Linked DNA regions of Homo sapiens: region 1 is linked to region 2. The links are contacts of gene promoters, found by promoter capture Hi-C in human tissues and cell types (Jung and others, 2019). All regions are on one chromosome and are shown on one strand. The core of a region is centred on a gene start or on the middle of the fragment in contact, and the rest is flanking DNA. Distances in the headings are between cores, read along the strand shown. Region 1 overlaps CFAP46 (cilia and flagella associated protein 46). Region 2 holds the start of UTF1 (undifferentiated embryonic cell transcription factor 1).

Region 1 (2,700 bases), core at 127-2,626, 400 kb after region 2:
GGGGGCTGGGGTCTCAGGGTGACCCTCCAGAGGATGGGCCAGGTGCTATGGGGCCCTCGTTGCCGAGCCAGGTGCCCTTGTCCACCATGCTGTTTGCAGAAGGGGCAGGAGCTCGGCCTTTCTGCAGGGGCCTGGCCCTCGCGGGGTCTGGGCCATGCGCCCTGTTTGCTACGGGGGCCTCTTTTTTGGATTGCGGTAGGAACCAGAAGGCCTGCAGGTGGAAGAGAAGGAGCGCCCTGTGCAGAGGCTCAGTAGCGTCCTGGGGCCCCTGGAGGAGCTTCTGCAGCCGCTATTCCCCCTGCTCAGCCTCTCCAAGGCCAGGTACTGGGGATGACGTTGAGGCTGGCACCCCACCACGCTCACGCATGGACACGTGTGTCCAGTGCTGTGGCCAACCACGTGTGCTTGCTGTGCCTTCTCGGCCGCCTTTGTTCAGGACTCGGCGCCGCCTGCCTGCTCCCAGGAAGCAATTCTTCTGGTTCTGCCTCCATTCCTGCCTGGAGGAGTACTGCCCACTGCCCACTGCCCACGGTCCCTCCAGCCCCTGGCCCAAGTGTGGGGTGGGAGGGCAAGCACCTCCAAGGGACCGCCCGGGCTGCTTTGATTTGGGGTGGGAAGGAAGGCAGAGGGGACGGACACCTGGCACCGTTTAGCTTGGCTGGTGGATCAGAGATGATCCCAAAATCCTGTGGCTCATCCCGGCCCCACCTCAGTGGGACCATCCCCAGAAGTGAGCGTGGGGATTCGTGGTGCTGCTGCCTTAGAGTGAAACAGGCTGAGCAGGTGTCGCCTATATTCCAAGCGTTTGTTATCTCTGTTTCTTAAACCCGAATATATAACCTGACTTTCAGAGTGCAGACACCTGCGGTTGTTGCCGATTCAGGGAAGTCGAAGGGCAAAGACAAGGAGAGGAAAACGTCCACAGGACAACACAGTGAGTGGGGCGGGCGTGGCCACTCAGCCTGGGGAGCTCATCCCGCCAGAAGAGGTGGGGTTGGGATCCACCCACCCATCCGGGAACGCCAGGGGGGGTCAGGAACCCAGGAGTCCCACAAGCCCTGCTGCTCCTTCCCCTGAGGCCTCCCTGCGCCTGAGGTCCCCGGAAGGTTCTCTGCACAGCCCTGGACCAGCCCTCTGGGTAGGAGGCTCTGTGCCAAGCCTCCTGAGAGCACCACGGAACCCAGCACAGCCACCTTCGCGTGGGTGGATTGTCAGCCCCGCCACACCACACGTGCTTGCTAACAAAAAGAATCGTGTGGAGGGACAGGCGTGATGGGAGGCTGTTCCTCGCCCCGTTCTGGGGCATCTGGAGGAGGAGGTGGCATGGAGTCAAGGCGGGCTGCCAGCCTTTCCCAGCGCCCAGCAGCCAAGTCAGAAGACGGAGCCCTGCGACCCCGTGGGAGGGGTCCCGTCTTCAGGAGCTGATCTCCCTGCACTGCTGTTTCCCAGGCACAGTCCAGCCTGAGGTTGCCGATAAGATAGTCCTGGTCGCAGACAGACATCTCCTGGAGCTGCCACTGGAAGGTCTCTCTGTGTTCGATGAAGGGACAATTTCCTCTGTGTCACGAGAATTTTCTCTTCAAATGCTGTGGAATCGCCTCCATAAAGAAGAGACAGGTAGGAACTGCCCTCAGCCACCTTAATGTGTAATTTTAAAATGGAAATATTTAAATTATTTTTCAGATGAAACAATGTTAGCTCCTATCAAGAAATAATCATCAAATGTTGCAACATTTTTCTAGGCATTTATTCATTCAAAGATATTTGTAGGATATAAATACTCACCAGCCTGGGCAACATGGTGAGAGTGCATCTCTACAAGAAAGTTTAAAATTAGCTGGGCATGGTGGTGTGCACCTGTGGTCCTGGCTACTCAGGAGGCTGGGAGGTGGGAGGATGGTTTGAGCCTGGGAGACTGAGGCTTTGGGGAGCTGAGATGGCGCCACTGCACTCCAGCCTGGGCAACAGAGTGAGACCCTGTCAAAAATAAAATATATATGTATATATATAAACACTCAAAACTATTTATAAAATACCTGCTATGTGCCAGTATCCTGGTGCTAAACACACAGGGAAGACAAACTTAACGCTGTTCTTGCCCCCACAAATACCTGTTTCAAAGGAGGGGACCAGATGTGTAGTAAACAGCCAGCCTCTCCGTTAATCACTCAGACAGTGAAAAGCACGAGGGAGCGCGCGGAAGGCCCTGACCTCGGCTGGGATTCGGGGGTGATGACATTCTGTGACTGAGTGCTGGCTGTGCAGACGTGCCCCGGTTGTGAAGCTTCCCCGAGCGCTACCCTTGCGGTACGTGCAGTTTTCTGCACTTCGGTATCAAATAAAATTAAAAATAAATCGATTGGACTTTTGCTTCCATCTCAGATGAAGTAACAGGGACCAGATTCGTTCTTCCAGCTGAGACAAATAAAAACCAGAGAAAAGCACATGAAATGAGGGTTTTCAAACATTGACGAGCAGTCCGCGCAGGACGGGGGGCCTCGAAGGGGGTTTGGCTGGCGAGCGCCATGGCCCACCCAGGTCTTACTCTCTGGGGAATTTCCAGGCCACAGCATTGGGGGGGGGGGGCAGGAAGAGCCCAGGGGTCTCCGCAAGTTGAGGACAGACAGTTTGGAGTCTGGGAAACTGACAACTACAACGTGCAGGGCGGGACACCTGGAAGGAGAGAGCTGCAAGGAACGG
Region 2 (2,700 bases), core at 57-2,556:
AACGGGGGTGGGAAGGCAGCAGGAGGGGTCAGGGCGGAGGGGCCTCGGCCTGGAGAGGGGAGACTGGCCGCAGCCGGGACTCACTGGCACGGGTCCCTGAGGACCCCTCGCTCGGCGGCCGCGCTGCCCAGAATGAAGCCCACGGCCAGGGACACTGTCTGGTCGAAGGCGCCGCGCAGCTGCTCCACGTGCTGGTTCAAGGTCAGCAGCTGGTCGCGCAGCGGGCCCAGGATGTTCGCGATGTCGCCCAGGTGCCCCAGGGTCTGCAGCAGGGCGGTGTTCAGCGACGGGGGCGCGGCCGGAGGGGGCGCGCAGTCCTCGGGGCGGCCGGGCGGCGAGTCGGGGTCTTCGCGGGCCGGGGGTGGCGGCGGGGACCCGGGGCCGCGGACGGGCGCGCGGTCCTCGGGGATGCAGGTGGCGAGGGCGGTCGGGGCGGGAGCTGGCGGGGAGCCGGGGGCGGGGGAGGCGTCCGCAGACTTCGGTGGGGACGGGCTGAAGCGGAGCGTCCAGGTGGGGTCCGCGTCGCGGTCGCGGGCGGTGGGCAGCGGGGTGGCGTCTGGGAACGCGGAGCAGGCGGTCGGGCGGATTTTCGCGGGGCGCGCCCGCCCCTCCCCCGCAGCCCTCGGCAGCCCCCGGTTCCTCCGCAGTCCTCGGCCCCACCTGGCCCCCCAGTCCCCCGCCTACCTGGTTCGCTGGGAGCCGGCGCGTGCGCGTTGGGGACCGGGCGGCGGGCGCGCTGGGGGCGCCCGGACCCCGGGGAGCGGCGGCGAGGCCGTTTGCGCCCGTTGTCGCCCAGCAGCCCCATGAGCTTCCGGATCTGCTCGTCGAAGGGCCCGGGCGGCTGGCCGTGCGCCTCGCGAAACTTGTCTTTAAGGAACTTGTAGCGGCGGCGGCACTGCGCGGGGGTGCGGCGCACCTGCTGCTGGGCCAGCGCGGCCGACACGCGGCGGTAGGTGGGCAGGGCCTGGCGGCGGTCCAGGAGCAGCGCGCGCCACACGGCCGGTTGCAGCAGCGTCCCCAGCAGCAGCTCCGTCTCCCGGGCGCTCCAGGGCGTGCGCTGCGCCGAGCCCGGGGACACCGGCAACCCGAGTTCCCCCAGCGCGCTGGGCGAGGCGGGCCTCCGGGGCGGGGTCCCCGGGGCGTCTCCGGGTGTCCGCGGCTCGGGGTCGGGGCTGGCGGGCGAGGGCGGCGCGGGGGGCGCGAGCGGGGGCGGCCTGCGGGGCCGGAGCAGCATCCCGGGGCTGGGGCGCGGCGCGCGAGGATGGGGAGAGGGCCAGACGCCGCCCGGGCCGCCCACACGCGTTCTGAGCATCCCGCGCCGCCGTCCCTCCGTCCCAGCCGGGTCTACGCGACCCTCCCACCATCCCCGCCCCGCCCCGCGCGCCCCGCCCCGCCCGCCGGGTCCTAAGGGGTCGGTCCTGGCGCTGCGGCCGGGAAGACGCAGAGCAAAGACTGGCTTCGGTTGGAAACGGAGGGTCCTCAGGAGTTCTGTTCTTAGACCCGTTCAACGGAGGTGCCGCGATGCCTAAGCCCCGGCGGCTCCGCTCGTTTTTAGCCTGTGCCGAGCCTACCCCCGCCCCCGTCGAGGTGTGTGCGGAGCCCCTCCCGCTCCGGAAGGCGCTGGCGCCCCCTTGTCCGGCCCCCAGTGCTGCCCCCGCCCCCGCCGCCCCCGCCCGGGCTCAGCACCTGCACGCGAGGGGTCCGGAGGACCGACCCGGGTCCCAGGGGGAGTCGCCAGGCCAGGGGATGGGTCCGAGGAGAAGCCACGCCAGCCGCGGGAATGGGTGTCGGAATTCACGCGCTCGCAGAAGTAGCTTTTAAAATCTGAACTTCTTCCATCTGCAGCGCGTCTGCAGCCAGCATCCCTGGGAGGAGGAAATTCTCTTCCTATTAAATGCTCTTCCTCCTTGCCGCACGGCGCCGAGTCCTTCTGTCTCCTGGGTCTCCTCTGGGCCGTGGCAGCTTCTCGCGTCCTCGACACGGTTGAGGACGGGCCAGGTGTTTTGTTGAATGTTCCTCGACTTGGGTTTGCCTGGTGTCTTCCTGTGATCCGACTAGGGTGGTGGGTTTTAGGAAGGAAGGCGCAGGGGTGGAGTCTCGCCCCTCCTGTCTTGTGGCTCAGCACCGGTGAGGTCTGCTCCGTGCTGGGGTGCGGACTGTCTGCCACTCTTGCAGTCTTCAGGTATCGCCTTTCCATCCCTGCTCTGGTCACTGGAATCCGGCCCCTCAGCCCATCCCCAACTCATGGGGAGAGTAATTAGGCCCCACCTCCTGGAGGGGTGTCTGTATTTTCTGGGATTCTTCTGTAAGGTTTGTCTCTCTGCCTGTTGATTTATTTACTCAGTCATTTATTTCTACAGTGTGGGCTCGTGTATATTTATTTTATCCTTTAGGTCATAACCCGATGCTGTTATTATTTATTTGTTTTAAAAGTTCTGTTTGTTTTTATTATTTTTTACAAATGGGGTCTCTTTCTGTCACTCAGGCTGGAGTGCAGTGGCCTGATCACAGCTCACTGTAGCCTTGAACTCTTGGGCCCAAGTGATCCTCCAGCCTCAGCTTCCTTGGTAGCTGGGACTACATGTGTGCACCACCACACGCACCTAGTTTTTTTTTTTTTTTTTTACTTTTTGTAGGGACAGGGTCTTGCTATGTTGCCTAGGCTCGTCTTGAACTCCTGGGCTCAAGTGATCCTCCTGC

The links. Contacts are between HindIII fragments. The study calls those that stand out against the background at their distance.
Region 1: a contact is called between a fragment that was not itself captured here and the fragment with the promoter of UTF1 in region 2, in 2 of the 25 tissues and cell types used here (dorsolateral prefrontal cortex and spleen).

Annotation. Positions count from the first base shown.
Region 1 is chr10:132,832,275-132,834,974 of GRCh38, reverse strand. CFAP46 (cilia and flagella associated protein 46) reads left to right here. Exons shown (of 58, transcript NM_001200049.3): 48 at 200-321; 49 at 852-934; 50 at 1,450-1,617. Among named protein-coding and RNA genes, the nearest start is that of NKX6-2, 47 kb to the right of the region's middle. The HindIII fragment of the contact is 6,011 bases long and covers 1-2,700 here.
Region 2 is chr10:133,228,823-133,231,522 of GRCh38, reverse strand. UTF1 (undifferentiated embryonic cell transcription factor 1) reads right to left here and starts at 1,306. Exons shown (of 2, transcript NM_003577.3): 1 at 685-1,306; 2 at 1-556. The coding sequence starts at 1,234. The coding sequence ends at 81. RefSeq lists an enhancer at 525-1,324. The HindIII fragment of the contact is 26,740 bases long and covers 1-2,700 here.